Linked DNA regions of Homo sapiens: all the other regions are linked to region 3. Evidence: promoter capture Hi-C in 16 types of primary human blood cells and fetal thymus (Javierre and others, 2016). All regions are on one chromosome and are shown on one strand. Each heading gives the region's core, a stretch centred on a gene start or on the middle of the fragment in contact. The rest is flanking DNA. Distances are from core to core; before and after follow the strand shown.

Region 1 (5,696 bases), core at 2,458-4,957, 270 kb after region 3:
TAAAAGCCAGCAGAACAGTGATCTCTCATGTGAAATTGTAAACCAAAAACCAACAGCCCTGTGAGCCCAGAGGCAGTGGGAGCCATTGATGTTTGATGCTAGTGTTGGCGCCTCGGCCACATATTTGCCATCCTTGGGTTGGGGGTGCTCTTGGTGGTAGAAAGATGAGCCCCTGCTCTCAAGGCCCCAGAATGGCTGAAAGGATTGAAAAGGAGCAATTTGGCAAAAGTCTTGAAAAGCCAGCGTCTCTCAACCTCTGAAATGCAAGTTGGGAAAACGTAGAAATCCCCCTTCTGAGTAAGAAGAATTTGGATTTGGGAAGTGATTAAAAAGGATTGAAGTTTCATGGGAAAATGGACTTCACTTGTACATAGATCAGGGGTCAGCAAACTCTGGTCTGTGGGCTAAATGCGGCTGCTGCAGGCTCAGAATGGTTTTGGCATTTTTAAATACTTGAAAACATTAAAAGAGGAACAGTAGTTCATGACGTACGATAATTAGGCAAAATTCACATTTCAGTGTCCATAAATAAAGGTTTATTGGGGCACAGCCAGGTCCGTTCATTTATACAATGTCTGTGGCAGCTTTTGTGCTGCAGTGGCAAGCTGAGTCATTACATAGAGACAGTATGGTCTGCAAGCCTGAAATGTTTATTGTTGCTGAACTCTTGGGTAGAGAACTGTGTTTATTTAGGTCTTGTCCCGAAATATGTTTATCAGTAGAGACCAGAAAGCAAACAGTGATTAAAATACTTCAGTGTTTTTGAGGAGGTGAGTGGATGGAGGTGCGTAGGTGCAGGAGGGACATAACTTCTGATTTCTTCCTGTCACCAGTGTCACCAGCACTGGGCTGTGCCTCCGCATTTGGACTGAATTATCAGAGGCAGCCACCCCTGTTCATTTTGGCAGCTGCTGCTTGCCTATGAGGCAGAATGTCGAGGAAGAGAAAATACACCTCCAGCCCAGCCTCACCCATCCTCAAAGTGATTCTAAAAAGTTAGCTATCAAGGTTTGCACCACATCCTGCAAGAGTTACTAATAGAGACCTGGGGTTGGCCAGCATTTTCTGTAAATGGCTGGATAACAAATATTTTGAGCTCTGCAGGTCATACGGTGATGTCTTTCGCAACAACTCAGTTCTGCTGTTGAAGCTCAAAAGCAGCCATAGATAGCACACAAATGCATGAGCCTGGCTGTGTTCCAGTGAAACTTCTGTAATACACTGAAATGTGAATTTCATAAAATTTTCATGTGTTACCAAATATTATTATTTTGTTTTTTTCCAATCATTTTAAAATAACCATTCTTCTGAGCTTTCTGAACATAAAAAATGGGCGGTGAGCTAGATTGAGCCTGCGGGTATAGTTTGCTGACCCCTGGTTTAGATAAACTAAGTGTAGGCCTTGCTAGTCAGGCCCTCTGGGTTTGAATCCCACAATCCCACTTATTAGTGCTGGGGTCCTAGGCAAGTTACCTTTCAAGACCTCACTTTCCTTATAGGTAAAATGGGGGAAATAGTGGTTCCTACCCAATAGGGTTGATGTGAGAATTAGAGTAGATGTAAGTGCCAGCCCAGTGTCTGGGGCATAGAAAGCACCCAGCAAATATGGCTGCTACTGTTGGCTATTATGAAGGCTCAAGTAGATCCCTACAGCCTTGGAGGAACCGTTTGTGATGTGGAGGTTTGACGGTCTTCAACTGTCTTCAGTCCACAGTTCAATTAGATTGAATATGAGGCTGGAGGGTTTGGTGGTGCTGCCTTGCTTTCGTGCAGTTAAGTAGAACATGGTATATCCACAGAATAGGTTAATGTACAGGCATAAAAAGGGAGGTGGTGGAGTTGTACATCTGTATTCTGACGTGTAAAAATGCCCCTCGTGTCTCTATCTACCTGTGTGCATCTGTGTGTGTGTGTATGGGTGTGCATGTATGTGTGTGTACGTATGTGTGTGTATGTGTGTCCTTTGAAATCAGCACTTCTCAGCCTTGGCACTGTTGACATTTGGACCTGAAGTAGGCAGAATAATGCTCTGCCCTCCCGAAACATGTCCAGATCCCCATCTCCAGAATCTCTGAATGTCTTAGATTACATGGCAGAGGGGGACTAAGTTTGGAGATGGGATTAAAATTTCTAATCAGTGGAAAGGGAGATTAGCCTGGACTAGCCAGGTGGGCCCAGTGTAATCACAGAGGTCCTTAGCAGTGGAAGAGGGAGGTCGCAGAGTCAGAGGAAGAGGTGACTGTGGCAGAGAGGCCCAGAGTGAACCATACTGGCTTTGACAGTGCAGGAGGAGGCCAAGGAATGCGGTAGACTCAAGAAGCTGGAAAGGGCGAGGAAGCAGATGCTCCCCTTGCATGTCCAGGAAGGCATTCAGCCCTGCTGCCACCTTGATCGTAGTCCAGGGAGACCTGGTTGGAAGTGCTGAACTCAAGAAGTGTGATATAATATACTTGTGTTGTTCAAGCCACTGAGTTTGTGGTGATTTGTTACAGCAGCAATAGGAAACAAATCCAGGGCTGGATCATTCCTTGTTCATAATTCTTTATATTATTTAGTGTGTGTGTGTGTGTGTGGGGTTGCATTTAGGATAGTCAGTAGCATCCTGGCCTCTAGCCTACAGAGACCAGTAGCATCTCCCATCATGACAACCACAAATGTCCCCAGACATTGCCAAATGTCCTCTGGGGACACAGTTGCCTCCAGTTGAGAAGCACTAGTTTAAATTTAGAAAACAAATTGGGAAGGATATATAACAAATTCGTAACAGTACCCTTTGGGATATGGGATTGGAGGAATGGCTTTCACTCCTCTTTTAACATAAAATTTTTAAAACTGGATTTTGCCTCCCCCTACAGACATTTTTTTTTTATTTTCAACTGTGGTTTTTTTTCCCATTTTATAAAAAGATTAACCTTGAAAGGTAATATCACATTTCAATTTTAGTCATTATGGATTTTACTGTGGAAGGCAGTTCTATACACCTATGGCTGCTTTTCAACCTAGTTTTATTGGATTTTGTTTGACATTGTGAATGTCCTTTTTCCCAAAGATGTGATAGACATCCATTCATTCATTCAGTGTGTATTTCTTTTTTTTTTTTGAGACGGAGTCTTGCTCTGTCGCCCAGGCTGGAGTGCAGTGGCGCAATTTCAATCTCAGCTCACTGCAAACTCCGCCTCCCGGGATCACACCATTCTCCTGCCTCAGCCTCCCGAGTAGCTGGGACTACAGGTGCCTGCCACTGCCTGGCTAATTTTTTTTTTGTATTTTTAGTAGAGACGGGGTTTCACCGTGGTCTCGATCTCCTGACCTCGTGATCCGCCTGCCTTGGCTTCCCAAACTGCTGGGATTACAGGCGTGAGCCACTGCGCCCGGCCTCAGTATGTATTTAAGTGGCAGGAAGGTGCTGAGCTTGCCGCTGGGGAGGAGTGATGACTTTAGAGCTCTCTCTCTGCCCTCATGGAACCTGCTGTCTAGCAGGGAGGAGGACGGTAGTGCTCATTGTTTGGAAGACCACAGCCTGCATTGATCGCGGGGACTTGAGCATTCGTGTCCATGGTTTGGGAGTCCCTGGCTCCCATAGTACATGTTTTATGAAGGAAACTACCAGAAATCCATGATTAGAGATGGAAAATATCAGACCAATTGGAAATTTTCCTTTGACTCTCACCTGGTCTGAGCATCTTCTGTCTTTTTGGTACAGTGAACTACTCCAGATTGAAAACATTTCTGTTTTCTCCTTGCCTGGCAAGTGAGCTCAGTGAAACATCCTATTAGCCACACTGCAGGGTTGGACATTGCCACACCAGGTCAAGGGAAAGTGGCACTATGAAGGCCTGGGCAGCACTGCTGCTTTGAGAATTACGAGGAGAAAATCTGTGCTTTACCAAAAAGTAAATTAAAGATCCTGCCTGGTATCAGCCTTGCTTGAGTGACTAGTAAAATTGCAGAATAGCTTCATAGGAAAAAACAAACCCCAGAGTAAAATGGCGAGTGGGAAGTTCCTTCCTGATTCGTATTGTTTTTCCAGTTGCAGACAGGAAACATTCAAGTGTGTTTTCAAGCCCAGAACGTTGGACACAAAGAAGGCTCTGACAAAGCAGAAAAAACCCATATACAAAAAGTTTAGGAACATGGAGCAAAATGTCTGATTCAAAACAATCTAGGCTGGGCGCAGTGGCTCACGCCTAGCACTTTGGGAGTTGGAGGCGGGAGGATGGCTTGAGCTCAGGAGTTTGAGACCAGCCTGGGCAATGTAGTGAGAATCCATCTCTATAAAAAAAATTTTAAAAATTACCTGGGCATGATGGTGCGCATCTCTCGTCCCAGCTACTTGGAAGGCTGAGGTGGGAGGATAGCTTGAACCTAGGAGTTCAAGGCTGCTGTGAGCTGTGATCAGGCCACTGCACTCAGCATGGGAGGTAGAGCAAAACCTTGTCTTAAAAAAAAAAAAATCTGGCCGCGTACGGTGGCTCATGCCTATAATCCCAGCACTCTGGGAGACCAAGGCAGCCAGATCGCTTGAGCTCAGGAATTTGAGACCAGCCTGGCCAACATGGTGAAACCCTGTCTCTACTAAAAATAGAAAAATTAGCTGAGCGTGGTGGTGTATGCCTGTAGTCTCAGCTACCTGGTAGGCTGAGGTGGGAGTATCACTAGAGCCCAAGAAGCAGAGATTGCAGTGATCTGAGATTGTGGCACTGCACTCCAGCCTGGGTGACAGAACGAGACCCTGTCTCAAAAAAAAAAAAAAAAAAAAAAAAAATATATATATATATATATATATATATATATATGATTTATCAAGTATTATTTTTTATGATTGGATCACTTTGTCTACTGTTTTTTTTTTGTCTATAGATGTCTTGACGAATTCAGTCTCTTGCCCCCTGCCTTGCTTTAATAAATTACAAAAACTCAACCAAAGATAACACTTCTCAGAAAAAACCAGCACATTTCTGTGGCCTACGTACATGGCCTATTGAATGGCCTATTGAATGGGCACCTTGGCCGATAGTGGAATAATTGCTGGACTTTCCATATCTCTGGTAAAGGTGAACACTGCAAAACAGTTCACGATAGGAAGCACCAAGGCTTGGACCAGTCACAGTGATGAGGGAGATCAGGTCATTTGGACCACATTATTGGAATAGATGGAGACAGTACCAAGGCCTGAAAATTAAGATGGAGAGTCCACAGGCCAGCAAAGAATCTTTGTGTGAGGGAGCCATTCCAGTTTGTGTATTATACTCCATAGTCATGATTTGTCACTTAAAAGTAATTCTTCCCAATTATAGATCACTTTTAATCTCTAGTTGGGTTTGGATTTTTTTCTACACATTTTTTTTTTGTTTTTTTGAGACAGAGTCTTGCTCTGTTGCCTAGTCTGGAGTGCAGTGGCACGATCTTGGCTCACTGCAACCTCCGCCTCCCAGGTTCAAGCAATTCTCGTGCCTCAACCTCCCAGGTAGCTGGGACTACAGGTGTGTGGCACCACATCTGGCTAATTTTTGTATTTTTAGTAGAGATGAGGTTTTGCCATGTTGACCAGGCTGGTCTTGAACTTCTGACCTCAAGTGATCCACCCACCTTGGCTTCCCAAAGTGCTGGGATTATAGGCGTGAGCCACCACCCCCAACCTCTAAAATTGATTTAAAAAAAAAAAATCTAAGCCTGCAAATCTAAAATTGATTTTA
Region 2 (5,778 bases), core at 1,708-4,207, 260 kb after region 3:
CACTGTGCCTGGCCTTGAGTGATCTTAATAACTGGCAGGTGATAGAGAATTCCAAGGGTAGAGATAGTCCTAGGGGAAACCTAACACTTGAAGAGTTTATCCTTTAACTTAATATTTTTTTTTTGTTTGTAAATTGGGAAAAAGGCAACCATTATGTGATTCTTAGCAGGGGAGCAACTCTCTCCAGCTCTTCTATTTTCAAATCACTTGGGTAGTGATTGCTATTTTCTGATCCATTTGTTAAGTATTTGTAGTATTTAAATTCACAGCCCCTGGTTGCATTTCCATCCAATAGAAGGTGTAAGTTGGTTCTTCAAAGCTTTTTTTTTTTTTGAGATGGATTCTTGCTCTGTCACCCAGGGTGGAGTGCAATAGCACAGTCTCAGCTCACTGCAACCTCTGCTCCAAGGTTCAAGCGATTCTCCTGCCTCAGCCTCCTGAGTAGCTGGGATTACAGGTGTGCACTACCACTCCCGGCTAATTTTTGTATTTTTAGTAGAGACAGGGTTTCACCATGTTGGCCAGGCTGATCTGGAACTCCTGGCCTCAAGCAATCAGCCCTCCTCGGCCTCCCAAAGTGCTGGGATTACAGGTGTGAGCCACCGCACCCAGCTGGTTCTTCCAAGTTTTAAAAAGCTTTAAGGCCAGGCATGGTGGCTCATGGCTATACTCCCAGCACTTTGGGAGGCTGAGGCAGGCAGATTTGATGCCAGGCCAACACGGCGAAATCCTGTTTCTACTAAAAATGCCAAAATTAGCCAGGCATTGTGGTGCACACCTGTAATCCCAGCTACTTGGGAGGCTGAGGCACGAGAATCGCTTGAACCTGGGAAGCAGAGGTTGCAATGAGCTGAGATCCTGCCACTGCAATCCAGCCTGGGCAACAGAGTGAGACCCTGTCTCAAAAAAAAAAAAAAAAAAAAAAGCTTTAAAGCTAGCATACTCTTGTTTTATTTGCCCTGTATAAGCTGATGGAGACCTTTGCCCCAAATAGACAATTTTGTTATACATTGAATATCAAGTATCATTTCTCACAATGTAACTTATTATTTTCTCTAATTTCCATTTTACTTGTATATCTCCTGTTAGAGCCTCTTTTTTTTTTTTTTTTTTTTTTGAGACGGAGTCTCGCTCTGTTCCCCAGGCTGGAGTGCAGTGGCATAATCTCGGCTCACTGCAACCTCCGTCTCCTGGGTTCAAGCGATTCTCCTGCTTCAGCCTCCCGAGTAGCTGGGATTACAGTTGCCCACCACCACACCTGGCTAATTTTTGTATTTTTAGTAGAGAGGGAGTTTTACCATATTGGTCAGGCTGGTCTCAAACTCCTGACCTCAGGTGATCCACCTGCCTTGGCCTCCCAGAGTGCTGGGATTACAGGCGTGAGCCATCGCGCCCAGCCAGAACCAGTTTAATACTCCCATTGCTTTTGCATTTTTGTACTTGCTGGGGTTCATAATAATCCTCAAACAACCCCAACATAGCAGGACTAAAATACAGGCCATCCATGGCCTGGAGCACCAACTTTTGAGAGCCAGGCGATGTTGATTGGCTTCTGTCGTCATCTGTGGAAGTCCATCGTTAGAAAAGCTTCTGTTCCAGTTTTAGGGGGGAATGATGGTTTGAGGGCTACTGTGGTAGAACTTGGGGAACTCTTTTCGGCAAAAGGTTGAGAAAGTTGGTGCTGTGGGAAGTCAGCTGGCAGCCGATGGAGTCAGGACCAGGGAGGAAGGGAAAGGGAACCCAGATAGGAAGCTACTGCAGTAGGCTCAGAGAGGTGATGACGGCAGGGCTAAGACAGCAGCCTTGGGCGGTGACTGGGAAGAACATTGAACACCATGTTTGGGCTGAAGAAAAGAGCAAGGGAAGAGGTGAGGAGCTTCAGGTTAGGGTTGATGTAGATGTTATTTACATAGGGAACAGTAATTCTTCACTTTTTCATTGTTTTACAATGATTCCTTTTTAGAAACATATAATTGTGATATTTTCTTTGACCTTTTATTGGGCTTTCTATTCTATTCCATTGATTTATGGCTTTGGGTGTGTGTATATGTTTGCATCAACATTTTTTTTTTTTTTAGATGGAGTCTCGCTCTGTCACCCAGGCTGGAGTGCAGTGGTGCGATCTTGGTTCACTGCAACCTCTGTCTCCCAGGTTTAAGCAATTCTCCTGCCTCAGCCTCCCCAGTAGCTGGGATTATAGGTGCCCACCACCATGCCCGGCTAATTTTTGTATTTTTAGTAGAGACAGGGTTTCGCTTTGGTCAGATTGGTCTTGAACTCCTGACCTCAGGTGATCCTCCTACCTTGGTCTCCCAAAGTGCTGGGATTGCAGGCATGAGCCACTGCACCTAGCCTGCATCAGTATGGTTTAATAACTGTTGATCTGTAATATGTTTTAAATTGGGTAGAGCTGGTCTCTTACAAATACTCTTTTTCAGGCTGGGTTTGTGGCTCACGCCTGTAATCCCAGCACTTTGGAAAGCTGAGGCCGGAGGATCGCTTGAGGCCAGGAGTTCAAGGCTGCAGTGAGCTGTGGTCCTGCCACTGCACTCCAGCAAGAGACCCTGTCTCATTAAAAAATAATAATAAATATTCTTTTTTCAGTATCTCTCTTACTTTTGTATAAAGGCGAGTTTTGGCATCTCATCTTCTCTAGTTTCTAGAAAAAATTATTTAGGATTTTGATTGAGTTGGGACTCATTTATTCAAATGATGTTTATTGGGTCCCTGTTGTGGGCTAGGCTCTAAAGGTTCAAAAATAAATAAAACCCAGGTTTTTATGGCCTAATAAATCTGTGAACTAAACTTTGAGAATTGATATCTACAAGATGAGCATTGCACATGACTTTGTGTGTACAATCTTTTATATGCTTCCCAGGTATTTTTTTTTGTTTTTTAAATTGAGAATAGTGCCTATTTACTAAACTATGCAACTGATCATTTTTGTTATTTTAGGTACATAATATTATCAGTGTTGTGCTTCTATTTCTGCTTTTGCTATTTAGTTCAATGATTTCTTTTTCATCCCTTATTTAATTGGTTAGACTCCAAAATAGTGTGTAGCTGTATAAATGTTTATAGGAATATTGTGTAAAGGGCATATGATTCTACCTTTATTGGACATTTCAGGAACATGATAAGGACTATTTAAATCCTGCTAAAATACAAGTGTTGTAATATGAATTGTTCCCAATGGAAGTTTGCAAGCAACGTTCTCCTCATTTTCGAACCACACAACTTTTAGTGTGTCTGCTATTTGAGCTTTATTCTGTGTCTGTTTTGTGTCATGAGGTTGGCAGGTGATCTTAAATGCAGAATGCTGAATTTGTAGTAGTCCAACTATATGGAGAAAACAATTGCAATGCACTTTAGATTTAGGAACAAATTGGAGGAGAAAGTTGAGAAATGGTAAGAGGAGTTTTAATGGAGCGTATGTGGCAGTATGCTAATGTCACTTCTAAAGAAGAGGTGGTTAGCAGGTCACAAGGCAGTAGACTGAATTGTAGCCTCTGAATCTCAGGGCAGTCTTTAGGAATGGAAACCTTGCTGCCTGTAGATTTAGGTAGAGGTTTTAATAACCCCCCCGTTGCCAGAAAAAATCATCCACACACAGATTTGCCTATAATCTTATGGACTTCACAGACATCCTCAAGCGCATGGACAAAAACCCCAAGATTCAAGAAAAGCCGTCCACATGGTCGGCAGCTCAAGAAAGCCTGCCAGTTGTCCAAGCAATGCTTAGTTACAGTTCCCATGCTGGGAGCTGCTCTCTAGAGAAATGTTATTTGCAGATGTGCACCTCGTGCGTCTGTGTGTGTTGTTCTGCCTGTGTCCAAAATACATGCTTTTTCTAGATGGGAGCCTTTCCCCCACAAAGCAGAAATGTGTTCTGTCATGGGATTTGATGATCATCAAATTACTTTCCCTCAAGAATTGGCTTTCTTGGCGATTAGTTAATTCAGTTTTCAAAACTTTTAGATAAGGGCTTAATCAACGTAAAACTGCTTTGGGGCAGTTGCATTGTAGTAAAAAGTGTATTGGACTTGAGTCTGAGGGCTTGAGATCCTGTCTGTACTGTTTACTCGCTGTGTCTGTGACCTTGGTCCAATCAGCCACTCTGCTGTGTTCCTATACGTGAGAAACGGCTCCTGATACCACCAGGAGCAAGCTCTGCTGTGTTTAAGAAGGTGGTGTGTGCTAGGGAGGCGTCATGAGACAGTGAGGACATACAGTGTGACACAGCAGGTCAGCACTGGGGAAAATAGCCAGGTTAGCCTTCACTTCACTGCTCTATGCCAAAATACATTCCAAATGGGTTAAAGCTTTCATGTAAAAAATAAAACCACAAAATAAATACAAGAAAATATAGCTTATTGTGGAAAGTACTGCATGCTTTGGCATAAAAATGTGGAGAAAGAACAATAAAAGATAGCCTGTAGGTGGGACATGCGACTCCCACCTGTATCCCAGTTGTTAGGGAGGCGAGGCAGGAGGGTCATTTGAGGCCAGGAGTTTGAGCCCAGCCTGATTAACATAGTGAGGCCCGTGTCTGTAAAAGGAATTTTGGAAAAATTAGCTGGGTGAGGTGGCACACCCCTGTAGTCCCAGCTATTTCAGGAGGCTGAGATAGAAGAATCCTTAGAGCCCAGGAGCCGGAGCTGCAGTGAGTCATGATTGTGCCCCTGCAGTCCAGCCTGGGTGACAGAGTGAAACCCCATCTCTAAAAAATAAATAAATAAATAAATAAATAAATAAAACACCTGTAGATTTAACCACATAATAACTACACTTCTGTCTGTTTTATTATATCAAAGTTAAATTTAAAACGATGACTAATTGGAAAAAACTGAGAGCAACCACTACAGAGGTGAATATACTGAATGTATAAAGCTCTCTAGTAATTTTAAGAACTCCGCTCTAATGAGCAGATATCACAGACAGAAACTTCTCAGATGAAATACCGATGACCAGGAAATCTGTGAGACCACTTTAAAAAATTCGAAGTCATTGAAGAAATGCAAAGCTTCCAGGCTCCACTTTTCACTGATGAAATTGGCAGAGTTTGGGACAATGAGATGTTGCTGTCCCGGGAGTGTGGATGGGGCTGTGTCCTGTGATGGCGGTGGGCACTGGCACTCTTGTCCAGAAAGACATTCGCCACTGTGGTTCAAGAAGCACCTCAAAGGTCTTCACCTTGGTCCCTTGTCCACCTCTGCCCGCGGTCTCTCCTCCTTTCAGCCTCCTCTTTCCCACACAGTCCCTCCCGCCCTGGCTTGGTCCCCTTTCTTCTCTGATGGGGTCAGGCATGTGGGTGACTGACTTCCAAGGCTCTGTCTACCTGGCCTTTTTCTTTCACCTGTTCTGCGGAATAATAGCCTGATTCATTCCTCTTTTTGGGTCCTTCACTTCCATACCTGGGATTCGGGGCGTGGCCCAGAAAGACCCTGCAGTCGTGCAGTGTGGGGCTGCCAGCATTTCATGGCCTCCAAGCTCAGCTGGGCTGAATGAATGCTGCCGTCCAGCGCTTGGCTTAGTTTTCTGTCCCGTTTTCCTGAGTGCTTTTGCCAGACTTTCACTTTTCTGAAACCTACTTCACCCTACCCCAGACACCCACCCTCTCTCCTTGGATGACCTGCCTCCTAATTTCCTAAGAAAACTGGACATGGCCACCTTTCCCCAGTGTCTGAGGCCCAGGTTGACCCGTGGTCATGGTTGCCGTCACCACCCACCTGCCTGGACCCCACCCTCTGTCCAAGGCCCCGCCACCTGTGCCGCTGT
Region 3 (5,701 bases), core at 2,510-5,009:
AAAACCTTTCCAGACCTCCCAAATAGATCAAATCCCTCTGACAGACATAGGTTCTCAGCACCATGTCTCTTCTTGGTGGCACCCATCTCCCTTAGAATTGTACTTGAGTTTGTGGATTACTTATTTAATTCCTGCCTCTCCCACCAGACTGAAAACTCAATAATGGGAGGGGAATCCTGCTTTTGCTCCCTACCTACCACCATATCTGGCATTAAATAGGTCCTCAATAAGTATTATTTAAAAAGAAAAATGAGCTGTGTAAGGATGCTGATACAACCCCTGGCATATACGAGGTACCCCACTGATTCTCTCTGCCCCACCCTCAGGTAATGCCTGTTATGTACATGGTACCCTAAGCTTCTGGGGCTAAAATTGGCTCAATTTTTAACATTTGGGAAACAAGTGATTAGGTTGTGTTTTCTAATAAGCTATCTACCTCCCAGAATAAGGATTTTTGTTTTGCCCACTGACATACATGTAGCCGAACTGGTGTCCAGGCCACTCGTCGCCTGAAAGCCAAAAACTCAAAAGACAAGCTTTGGTGAAAGCAAAGTTAGCTTTATTCGAGAAACCAGCAACCTGCAAAAGGCAGTGCACTAGCATTCAAAGACCACCTTTCTCAGTTGTGCCTCTAGATCCAGGGATTTTAAGGAAAATTAGGAGAAATAATGATCAAAACATTCTTGTGGGCCAGGAGCGGTGGCTCATACTTGTAACCCCAGCAATTTGGGAGGCCGAGGCAGGTGGATCACTTGAGGTCAGGAGTTCGAGACCATCCTGGCCAACATAGTCAAACATCATCTCTACTAAAAATACAAAAATTAGCCAGGTGCGGTGGCACACGCCTGTAGTCCCAGCTACTCAGGAGGCAGAGGCTACAGCGAACCAACATCACTGCACTCCAGCCTGGGAGACAGACCAAGACTGTCTCAAAAAACAAAACAAAGAAACATTCTTGTGAATCATGCGCAGTCTCAGATGGGCAGTTAGTCATTACTTTCTTGGTCAATGCCTTGTGACTAGACTGTGCAGGGGCCATCAGCCTGTTCCCAAAGCTGCGGGTCTGTGTGTTTTATCTGTTGAAGAAGGTCCTGTTTTTTTCTGTGGCTGTTTTTAGTGAATAGTTTACAAACTCAGGCAAAACAATAATTATACTCAAGCAAGCAAGCTTTTCTCTAACATAGAGTCAGTACTGCTGTTACCCGTTGCAGGGCCTAGGGGACTTAGCTGGACGCCTACCTGGCTTTTGTTACCCAATGCAATGCCTCCATGACATAGCTAAATTCCTACTCAGATTTAACTCTGCTTATTTTTAGAAAACAGGTTGTCTGTGGTCATAGGTTCCTTCTTAGCTTACTCGACCTCTGAAGAACCTCTAGCTTCATTCTAATCCAACTTCAGTACTAAATGACATTCCCACTGGTTGCCATGACAGTTGACAATCACCGTGATGACCCGAAGAGACCAAAAAAAGGACAAAAAAAGGGGCAGCTCCTTGATTCCAGGAAAATCTACCTCCCTTCCCAAGAAAAAACATGAATATTCCTCCTCTTGTTCTTAATTTTTATTTTTTTTAGAGACAGGGTCTTACCATGTTGCCCAAGCTGGTCTCCAATTCCTGGGCTCAAGCTTTCCTTCTGCCTCCTCGCCTTGCTCTTAATGCCCAGCCCCTTCATTAAGGACACCTGACGACTAAGCTCTGATTCTTTTGTTTTTTTTTTCTGTTTTGTTTTGTTTTTGACACAGAGTCTCACTTTGTCAACCAAGCTGGAGTGCAGTGGCACAATCTCAGCTCATTGCAACCTCCGCCTCCCGGGTTCAAGTTGAGTCTCATGCCTCAGCCTCCCAATCAGCTAGAATCACAGGCGTGTGCCACCATGCCCAGCTAATTTTTGTATTTTTAGTAGAGACGGGGTTTCGCCATGTTGGCCAGGCTGGTCTTAAACTTCTGACCTCAAGCGATCCACCTGCCTTGGCCTCCCAAAATGCTGGGATTATAGGCGTGAGCCACCACGACCAGCCTAAACTCTTGATTTTTTTAATCCTGCCCAAATTCCTATCTAAGGGATCTGGGGAGTCATGACCTACAAACCATAAATTCTCATCAGATGGGTTTTATTTAATCCTATATATGATGACTTACTTTCCATTCTGACTCTGGCATAACATTACGTGACAAAAAGAAAGTCAAAATATTTTACCCCAAAACATGTTTCCTTGCCCTATTTTGCAATTTCTTCCATAAAGGACAGCATTTTCCCCCAAAAGCTATCCTTTGTGGGGTAAAATGTGCATCTGTAAAGAACATCTATTAACATAGCTAGATGTTTTTCTTCCAGGCCCTCCCAATCCTAAACGGATTAACTAAAAGTCTAACACCTTTTGAAGATCTGAATAGGAAACATTTGTCATCTATTATCTCTAAGAGCAGCCACCATAAGACTTCAAAAGAACCTTAGTCTCCACTATCTTTTATCTTAACCTGAACACTTCCTTTCTATCAATCCCAGGTCTTCAGACAAACTCAACCAATTGTCAACTAGAAAATATTTAAATTTACCTATAGCCTGGAAGCCCCCACCCCCACCCCTTTGCGTTGTCCCGCCTTCCTGGACCAAACCAATGTATTTAATGTATTTGACTGATGTCTCATGCCAACCTAAAACATAAAACCAAGCTGCACCCCGACCACCTTGGGCACATGTTCTCAGGGCCTCGAGAGGGCTGTATCACAGGCTGTGGTTACTCGTATTTGGCTCACAATAAATCTCTTCAAATATTTTGCACGGTTTTACTTTTCGTCAACACTCCCTATTACCTGTAACTTCTCAGTTTCCAAGAGCTGAGAGCTTGATTTGCGAGCTACCCTCCCACTTCTCCAATTCCATGGCCACTGAATGAAGGCTGCACTGCCTGATACTCACACTTGGTCTCATGCGCTGGCTCTGCAACAACGGACAGACAAGAGTTCCTTTGGGGGAAACCAGCTTCCCAGGTGACACTGTTGCCTCTGCTACATGCGCAAAGCGCAGCCTGGCACATAGTAGGTGCTCAAGAGAGGGAAAGCCGGGTCTATGAATTCAGGGACAGGGGCAGCACCAGAAGAGAGCAAGCTGGGGCCTGGCTGGCTGAACCCTGGCCCCGAGACCCCTGTGACCCCCCTTCTCATCAGGATGCACCACATGAACCTCCCCAACGCGAGGGCCAACAAGTGGCCCCAGATGAGACCGCGCCGGGAAGGGCCTGGGGCCACGCACAGATACTTCCGCCAGAAAAACACCACGCCGCGCCGTGCACCTCCGCCAGAGGAAGAAGGTCCCGCAGGGTCGGGGTAACCGCTCCATCCCCGACCGCAACCCTGGACCAGGTACAAGGAACAGATCCCTCCACCGGAACGCCGTGTCCCTCCGCCAGACACAGGAGTCCCCGCTCCCGTGCTCTCCTTCCCCGGCAGCCAGGCCCCGGTGCCGACTCCTCCGCCTCAGGGAGGCCCCGCCGCCGCCTAGATTCTCCGCCTGAAGCGGGACTCGCGACGGCAGGTTCCCTAGAATCCCTCTGTGTCCCTCCGCCCCGGGGAGGACCCTCCGCGCCCCTCTACAATCTTAAAGTCCCTCAGCGACGAGTCACCGCGCCGCGCGCTCTCGCGAGAGTCCACCGCACGGCCCCCCCCCCCTCCCCCAGCCCCTCGCCCGCCAGGACGCCTCGCGCGGGCCCCGCGGCGCTCGGTGGCAGGCGGCGCATGCGTGACTGCGGTTCCCAGCGCCCCCCGCGCTCTCCGCGGGCCGAGTGGACGAGGCCGAACGCGAGCAGCCTGCCGCTGCCCCCTGCGAGCCCTGGCTTCGCCCCGCAGCTCTTCTCCCTTCCGGGCGGAACAGTTTTTGCGGCCTTTCCTCGGCGGCAGCGGTTTCCTCAGGACGGTCGGGGCCGTCGTGGGCCCGAAAGAGCCCGGCGCCGCTCTCGGAATCCGGCGGCCCCAGCGGCACCCGCGGCGGCCTGGACGTGCTGCGGTGACCCGAGCCCGGAACCTGGCGCCGGGCGGGGCCTGCACATCCGGCCCCACCCACTCGGGGACTCGCCTCTCCGCGCCCGACCCGGGAGTAGCGGACACACCCCCTCCCGGCCCGGCTGTCCGCCTCCGCCCAGCCTTTCCTCAGCCTGCTTCATTTTTCTCCCAGTCGTCCAGCCTCCCGGTTTCCGACTTTGCACTAAGAGGGATGCACTCTGGAAAACCACATTGCGCGGTCACATCTTGTTTGGAGAAGAGGCCAGGCTTTTGCATCTTAGAGTATACGTTCACCTTTTCAAGGGCCTGGCATAGATTTGATTAATCAGCCTGGAATACCCTGTTCCTGCCGACCTGGCCGTTTTTACCTCCGTACCTTATCACACTCCCAGGAACATTAAGCAGGGAGCGCTTGGAGTCTTCTTTGGGTCCCCACCTTGAGCTAGACGTGAAGTTGACCCCTGGGCTGCAGCATGGCTGTCGCCCTCGACTCTCAGATCGACGCGCCCCTGGAGGTTGAGGGATGCCTAATAATGAAGGTGGAAAAGGACCCTGAGTGGGCATCAGAGCCCATTCTGGAAGGATCGGATAGCTCTGAGACCTTCCGCAAATGCTTCAGGCAATTCTGTTATGAGGATGTGACTGGACCCCATGAAGCTTTCAGTAAACTCTGGGAACTTTGCTGCCGGTGGCTGAAGCCAGAAATGCGTTCCAAGGAGCAAATACTTGAGCTGCTGGTGATTGAGCAGTTTCTCACCATTTTACCCGAGAAGATTCAGGCTTGGGCACAGAAGCAGTGTCCGCAAAGTGGAGAGGAAGCGGTGGCCCTGGTAGTGCATTTGGAGAAAGAGACTGGAAGACTAAGACAGCAGGTGAGAGAGGATTTTCCAAATTTTTGTACTTAGAAAAAAGGGAATGGGAAAGGCATGTGGGCAGGGATGTATTGCAGAAAGACGTGCTCTTCAGAGAAAGATAAATGGTACTAATAAAAGACCCTATAAGGGGGTCTTTTCACTTTAAGTGAATCCACTTAAAAGGGGATCAGAATTTCACATGAAATAGAAAAATAAAAGCTTTGATTGAAATATTATCTTACAATGGAAACCAGACATTATTCACCTAAGCATTTATCGTCATCTTTGGCATAATGTTTGCAACAAAACAATATAAGAGAACAATATGGTTTTGCGTCACAGAGGTTCACTTACGCATTTTGATCAAAAAAGGCTATTCTGTTCCCCCTTTAAAAAAAAAAAAAAAAGACTTCATCCGTTATCCCAGAGCCGTCTCCAAGCGTTTTACTGTTGCACTCAGTGTCTTCTGAAGTGCTCTCATGCCTTCATTTCTGTCACTCTCCTCCAGTCTAACTGCCACATCTTCATTTCTCAGTGGCTTGCATGCTCTTCTAGTTGTTCTTCAACCTCACTTTCATGAACCTCGTGAAATCCTGCAGCATTTGCAAGATTTGCGGTTTCACCTTGCATCAGACTTGCATTGTGTAGAGATCTATCAGCAGGTTGCTGTATTGGTCAGGGATAGACAGATAGATGTGGATATTAATTTTGTAAGTTTTCATTTCACTACTGTATATATTCATGTCCTGGTAACTTCTTTGCGAACGTAACAGATATAGAGTCAAATAATATCTATTCTAGCAACAAGGAGGCTCTTTCACTCCTGACAGATTTCCTTCTCTGT
Region 4 (6,215 bases), core at 168-2,667, 450 kb before region 3:
TTTCTTGGTTGAAATCAACATGCAATTTTCAAATTCTAAATGGGTAATGTAGCAATTTAATATATGGCATATGTGTTATAATAATATTTCTTAATATTAATTGCTTTAAGATATACTTATGGCAACATGGCATTTTCATTTTTGTCCATATTTAGATAGTCATAAGAATGCTAAGAAGGAAAGAAAAATTCCACCTGCCAAGATTTTTTCTATATCTGAACACAAATGAAGAAATTGGTTCAGAATGGGGAAGAGAAAAAACAAATACACAACTGTATTCCAGTATGTTTTAAACACGGCTTTACACATCTGTTTTGATACTTGCTTATTGTTTACTGAAAGTGAATATTTTATAAAGCCTCTTATTTTATGATATAAGAACAAAATATGCAGGGTTAATCCAGATTGGAAGGAGCAAGGAGCCACTCGTTTTGTATCTCAGGAAATGCCTGACTTTGGACCCAACCTGTGTCCCACAATCACCACCTGGTGGCAGCATACTTAAATAGCAGGGATAGCTGAGTGTTACATAAACATCTTTTAAATTTTGACCCCAGCAACATTAAGGTCATTTTGTGGTACCGGATCAATGACTAGATCCTCTCTCCAGAATAGGGGAATTAAAAAACAGGAAATTAGGATACCAGAAACCTGGGTGGGTGTGGAGTAACTATGGAATACAGGCATATGTCAATGATGACACTGTTCACCAGCATTTTCCAATAAGTGATGCTCTTACCACTAGCAGGTGAGTCCAGGTGGTACAAGAAAAAGCCACCCTGAGGATAAGATGATTGAGCAGAGACCCGAATGAAGGGAGGACATAAGACATGCAATTATCTAATGCAAAGAAACATTGTAAGTGGTGGAAGCAGCAAGTGCAAAGGCCCTGGGGCAGGGCCATGTTTGACTTCTCAGGTACAGCAAGGAGGCTAGCAAAGCTCAAGCAGAGGAACAAAGAAAATAAGGCAACTGAATGTGGCTAAAGCAGTGAATAGGGGTCAGATCCTTGCCTTTTCTCCAGTTTCTAGAAGCTGCCCACATTGGCTTGTAGCCTCTTCCTCTATTGCCAAAGCCAGCAACAGTGATTGAGTCCTTCTCATACTACCTTCTGGTTCTCTCTCTGCCTCCCTCTTCCATTTACAATAGTGCCCCCTCATCTACAGAGGATATGCTCCAAGACCCCCAGTGACTTCCTAAAACCATCAATAATACAAAACCCTATAGATATTATGTTATTTCCTATACATACATAGCTATGATAAAGTTAAATTTATAAATTAGGTACAGTAAGAGATTAACAACTCATAATAAGATAGAATTATAACAATATATTATAATAAAAGTTACGTGATTATGGTCTCTCTCTCAAAATATTTTATTTTACTATTCTTACCCTTTCTAAATTGAAAAGTTTTGCCTTTTCACTTAAAAGAAGCACTTCATGGGTTCTCTTTGGGCATATCTGAATTACCAGCATCACTACTCTTGCACTCTGGGGCCATCATTAAGTAAAGTAAAGGTTACTCACACATAAGCACTGAGATACCACGACAGTCAATCTGATAACCAAGACAGCTGCTGAGTGACTCAAGGATGGGTAGAGTCTACAGGGTGGACATGCTGGACAAAGGGATAATTCACATCCTGGGTGGCACAGAGCAGGACAGCGCAAGATGTCACCACACTACTCAGAATGATGAGCAACTTAAAACCTATGAACATTTATTTCTGAAATTTCCCATTAATATTTTCAGAGCACAGTTAACCATGGGTAACTGAAACCTCAGAAAGTGAAACTGCGGATAAGAGAAGCCTTCTGTATACAATTCCTTGGAATTACATTGGCTCCAACCAAATAATTCAGGACAATCTCCCATTTAAAGTCAGTTGGTTCATAATCTTCATTCCATCTGCAACCTAATTCCCCTTTGCCAGCTAATCTAACATATTTGCAGGTTCCAGGGATTAGGATGCAGGCATTTCAGGGAGGTCATTATTCTGTCTAGCACAGAGGGTTAGAAAGCAGGTTAGGCCACCGCACGTTCTCATTCATAAGTGGGAGCCGAACAGTGAGAACACATGGACACAGGGAGGGGAACATCACACACCAGGGCCTGTCGGGGGGTGGGGAGCTAGGGGACGGAGAGCATTAGGACAAATACCTAATGCATGCCGGGCTTAAAACCTAGATGACGGGTTGATAGGTGCAGCAAACCACCATGGCACATGTTCTGCACATGTATCCCAGAACTTAAAGTAAAATTAAAAAATATATATATTAAAAAAGATTTAAAAAGAAAGCATGTTAGGCAGACAACTAGAAGGTGGAAAGTTAATACACCAACCTGGGAAACACAGCCTGAAAAGAGAGGATAGGTCAATTGAGAACCAAATGACAGAATCTTCTGGTCACTCCCAAAGCTCAACAACTGCAGGGCAGTTTTAAGAAGCAAGTGTGACCCGTAGCTCCGTAGGTTTTTATGTTGTTTCGGTATTTTAAAAATGACGTAACAATGATGAATCCGGTGAAACAGTTACACAGTCTGAGATTGTCCAGGAATTCCCCAGATCTTTACGCAGTCTGCCCTGAGAACGTTTGATATCCATGCTATAAAATAGTTTCTGTAAATTAAACCTCTTAATCTAACTTTATAAGAGTGCTTGTCCTGTATTTCAGGTACTCCCTGGACTGCAACATTCCAGGAAACCAATAACCTGGGGGAATTCATGAAAACGTGCATGGATTAATAACAACTAACATATGTAGACTAAGTCGATCCCAACACACAGTCACTATTCTACCCTTGCAAAATCACTGTGGAGTTAGTAGAGGTTGTTATTCCCATTTTAGAGATGAGAAAACAAAGGCTCTACACACCAATCTATGCACACAAAACAAGTCCCACAAGGTGCAGAACTCAGACTCAAATCCTTAATTTCTGATTCCACCTTCAGCTTCCTTTTCTTTCTTTTATTCAATTATTTTTATTTTTATTTTTTTTTGGGATGGAAACTGGCTTCATCACCAGGCTGGAGTGTAGTGGTGCGATCTCAGCTCACTGCAACCTCCGCCTCTGGGTTCAAGCAATTTTCCTACTTCAACCTCCTGAGTAGCTGGGACTACAGGTGCGTGCCACCACGCCTAGCTAATTTTTTGTATTTTTAGTAGAGATGGGGTTTCACCGTGTTAGCCAGGGTGGTCTCGACCTCCTGACCTTGTGGTCTGCCTGCCTCGGCCTCCCAAAGTGCTGGGATTACAGGCGTGAGCCACCGCAGCCAGCCCAGCTTCCTTTTCAAAATACCACAGAGCTCCAAGCAATCAAACTGTCCTATGACAGAGGTGCCCACGTAGTTTGACTCAAATATTTCCTCATCTCCAGGGGCTCCCAAATCTCTAACCCTCTGCAGAAGCTTTAACCTGGAGGGAATGGTGTGCGGACACCTCTAGGAGGTAACAAAAGTCAAACAGGGGGCCCCCGTGTCATGGCCTGATTATTATATGGCAATTAGGTAATTTTGATAATACATCCAGAGAAAGACAATCCAACTACTCATGGAGCATAATGATCTATCAGTAATAATCCGTGCTCATCTCCTACAACTGTGCTACAGCAACAGAGGCCAGGAATAGTAGGAAGGCACCCAGGGCCGGGTGCGGTGGCTCACAGGTAATCCCAGCACCTCGGCAAGCCTCAGCTGTAGGATTACTTGAGTGCAGGAGTTTGAGACTAGCCTGGGCAACCAACAGAGCAAGATGTCTTCTCTACAATTTTTTTTTTTTTTTTTGAGATGGAGTTTTGCTCTTGTTGCCCAGGCTGGAGTGTGATGGCATGATCTCAGCTCACTGCAACCTCTGCCTTCTGGGTTCAAGCGATTCTCCTGCCTCAGCCTCCCCAGTAGCTGGGATTACAGGTGCCTGTCACCACGCTTGGCTAATTTTTTGTGTTTTTAGTAGAGACGGGGTTTCACCATGTTGGCCAGGCTGGTCTCGAACTCCTGACCTCAGGTGATCCACCTGCCTCGGCCTCCCAAAGCAATTTTTTTAAAAATTAGCCAGGCACAGTGGAGCACCTATATAGTCCAGCTACTAGAGGCAGGAGATCACTTGAGCCCAGGAGTTCAAAGCTGCTGTGAGCTATGATCATGCCACTGTACTCCAGGCTGGGCAACAGAGCGAGACACCATCTCTAAAAATAAATAAATAAGACATCCAGCTCAGGACATCCTGCTATGGGAGCTCAGGAATGTCACTTGCCCTTCCAAAGTCTCAATCTCTCTATCTGTAAGAAAACATCTACTTCATGAGGCCACTGTGAGGAATAAATGAAATAATGTTGTGTGCTATAGGAACCTTTGGGGGAGACTAGCTAGCCCACACAGCTTATTTGAGTGGGTTTCTCTTTCTGCACCCAAAATAGGCTTGCAAAAAAAGAGTATGTGAAAAAGCTGAGAACAATTCTTAGCTACACTTCCCAAGAAATGTGAGGGTTCTTTCTTTCCAGAAGCCTGGAGTATCGTACATACAAGGTCCTCTTTTTGTTCATGAATTCACTGATTTATCATTGGTGATTAATAAATCACCATGCATTGAGCATCTACTATCTGCCAGGCACTGTTCTGGGCTCTGGCTTGAAACAAAATGGACAAGATCGATTTCTGGTCCTATGCAGTTTACCTTCTAGTGAGGGGGAGATAAGTAATGAGGATAACTTTGGAGAGCAATAGATGTGCTGGAGAAAATAAAACAGCATAACAAGCTCAGAAGTGGAAGAAGTTATTTAAATTAGGTAGTCAGGAAAGGCCTTTTAGAGGAGCTGAAATTTCAGCCAACACCTAAAGGAAAGATAAGGAGATACCAGTAGTTTAGGGATCTAGGGACAGAATATTCCAGGAGGAGGGAAAAGAGAATAAAATGGCCCTAAAGGGGGAATGAGCTTGGCATAGTCCCTGAACAGAAAGAAAACCACTTCCACTGTTTACTGTGAGGGCAAGACTCCTGCAGCAGCCTGTCCATCTGCACACTGGAACTAAAAGCAGGGAAATGCTGAAGCTTATTATTTACTCCCATGAGGCTGGAAGACACCACTTCCAGTGGAAATGAACTCTGAGACAAATAAAGGTAAGAACGTATGCTTGAGGCCATACACCTAGGTTTGAATCCCAACTCCACAGTTTGAGCGAGTGACTTACCAGCACTGTGCCTCAGTTCCCTCGCCTGTAAGGCGTGGGTAATATCAGTGCCTATCTCACGAGGTGCCAGTGAAGCCTAAAGGAATTCAATACTCGGAGCCAAGCCTGGCACACGTGATACAATATCATCTACCACCAGTGCTGCCACTCCCACGGCGACTGTTATTCCATCAGATTCGAACCTCCATCTCCCCCTCCCGTCCTAAAATAACCATGGTTTGTCTCTGATTCACTTTTTGCTATGTGGCAACATGAGTGCATCCACATTGACTAATGTGCACCAGCTCAACTCTTTTTTTTTGTTTGTTTGTTTTGAGACAGACTCTTGCTCTGTCACCAGGCTGGCTGGAGTACAGTGGTGCAATCTCGGCTCAATGCAACCTCTGCATCCTGGGTTCAGGCGATTCTCCTGCCTCAGCCTCCTGAGTAGCAGGGATTACAGGCACGCATCACCATGCCCGGCTAATTTTTGTATTTTTAGTAGAGACGGGGTTTCACCACGTGAGCCAGGATGGTCTCAATCTCTTGACCCTGTGATCCACCTGCCTCAGGCTCCCAAAGTGCTGGGATTACAGTTGTGAGCCATCGTGCTCAACTCTTAAGAGTTGAGTTGAGCCGCTAGCTCAACTCTTAATCCACTCCTTGGGCATGGTTCTTCTACCCCTGAATTGGGGGTGTAAGGCAGTCAGCCCCTCTGCAAGGGATTATAATAGTTTATGAATCTAAACAGTGACAGTTATTTTGCCACCCTTTCCTCTGTCAAATAAAATGTGCAAAGGAAGGATATCCCATATATGAAGTACATTTTGGTCAAGTTTATATAAACAATATTTTCAGATCACCCTCAAACACATCTGATCTCAATTTAGGCATCAATGACTTAGACAAACAAACAAACAAGAATGGGAAAGAAAAGGGAGACAGGAAAGGGGAGGAGGAAGGAAGGAAAAGAAAGAAATGCCACCCTAGAGAAGGATGTCTCTCCATTTACTCCTGTCCTCTCCAGCGCCCCTTAGTAGAGT

The links. The method cuts DNA at HindIII sites, captures the fragments that hold promoters and counts their contacts. A CHiCAGO score of 5 or more calls a contact.
Region 1: a fragment that was not itself captured here is called in contact with the fragment with the promoter of ZKSCAN2 in region 3 in 1 of 17 cell types (monocytes); the score reaches 5.0 in monocytes.
Region 2: a fragment that was not itself captured here is called in contact with the fragment with the promoter of ZKSCAN2 in region 3 in 1 of 17 cell types (monocytes); the score reaches 5.2 in monocytes.
Region 4: a fragment that was not itself captured here is called in contact with the fragment with the promoter of ZKSCAN2 in region 3 in 1 of 17 cell types (M2 macrophages); the score reaches 5.5 in M2 macrophages.

What each region holds. Positions count from the first base shown.
Region 1 is chr16:24,982,066-24,987,761 of GRCh38, reverse strand. All of the region lies in intron 1 of ARHGAP17 (Rho GTPase activating protein 17), which reads left to right. Among named protein-coding and RNA genes, the nearest start is that of ARHGAP17, 30 kb to the left of the region's middle. The HindIII fragment of the contact is 9,234 bases long and covers 1-5,696 here.
Region 2 is chr16:24,998,378-25,004,155 of GRCh38, reverse strand. All of the region lies in intron 1 of ARHGAP17 (Rho GTPase activating protein 17), which reads left to right. Among named protein-coding and RNA genes, the nearest start is that of ARHGAP17, 14 kb to the left of the region's middle. The HindIII fragment of the contact is 2,735 bases long and covers 1,590-4,324 here.
Region 3 is chr16:25,255,903-25,261,603 of GRCh38, reverse strand. ZKSCAN2 (zinc finger with KRAB and SCAN domains 2) reads left to right here and starts at 3,759. Exons shown (of 7, transcript NM_001012981.5): 1 at 3,759-4,875. The coding sequence starts at 4,477. ZKSCAN2-DT (ZKSCAN2 divergent transcript) reads right to left here and starts at 4,027. Exons shown (of 1, transcript NR_170220.1): 1 at 538-4,027. RefSeq lists enhancers at 2,898-2,977, 3,098-3,417, 3,833-4,393 and silencers at 3,628-3,827, 3,908-4,147. The HindIII fragment of the contact is 3,031 bases long and covers 1,632-4,662 here.
Region 4 is chr16:25,702,454-25,708,668 of GRCh38, reverse strand. The region is part of intron 1 of HS3ST4 (heparan sulfate-glucosamine 3-sulfotransferase 4); the gene reads right to left. Among named protein-coding and RNA genes, the nearest start is that of HS3ST4, 14 kb to the right of the region's middle. The HindIII fragment of the contact is 3,999 bases long and covers 1-3,416 here.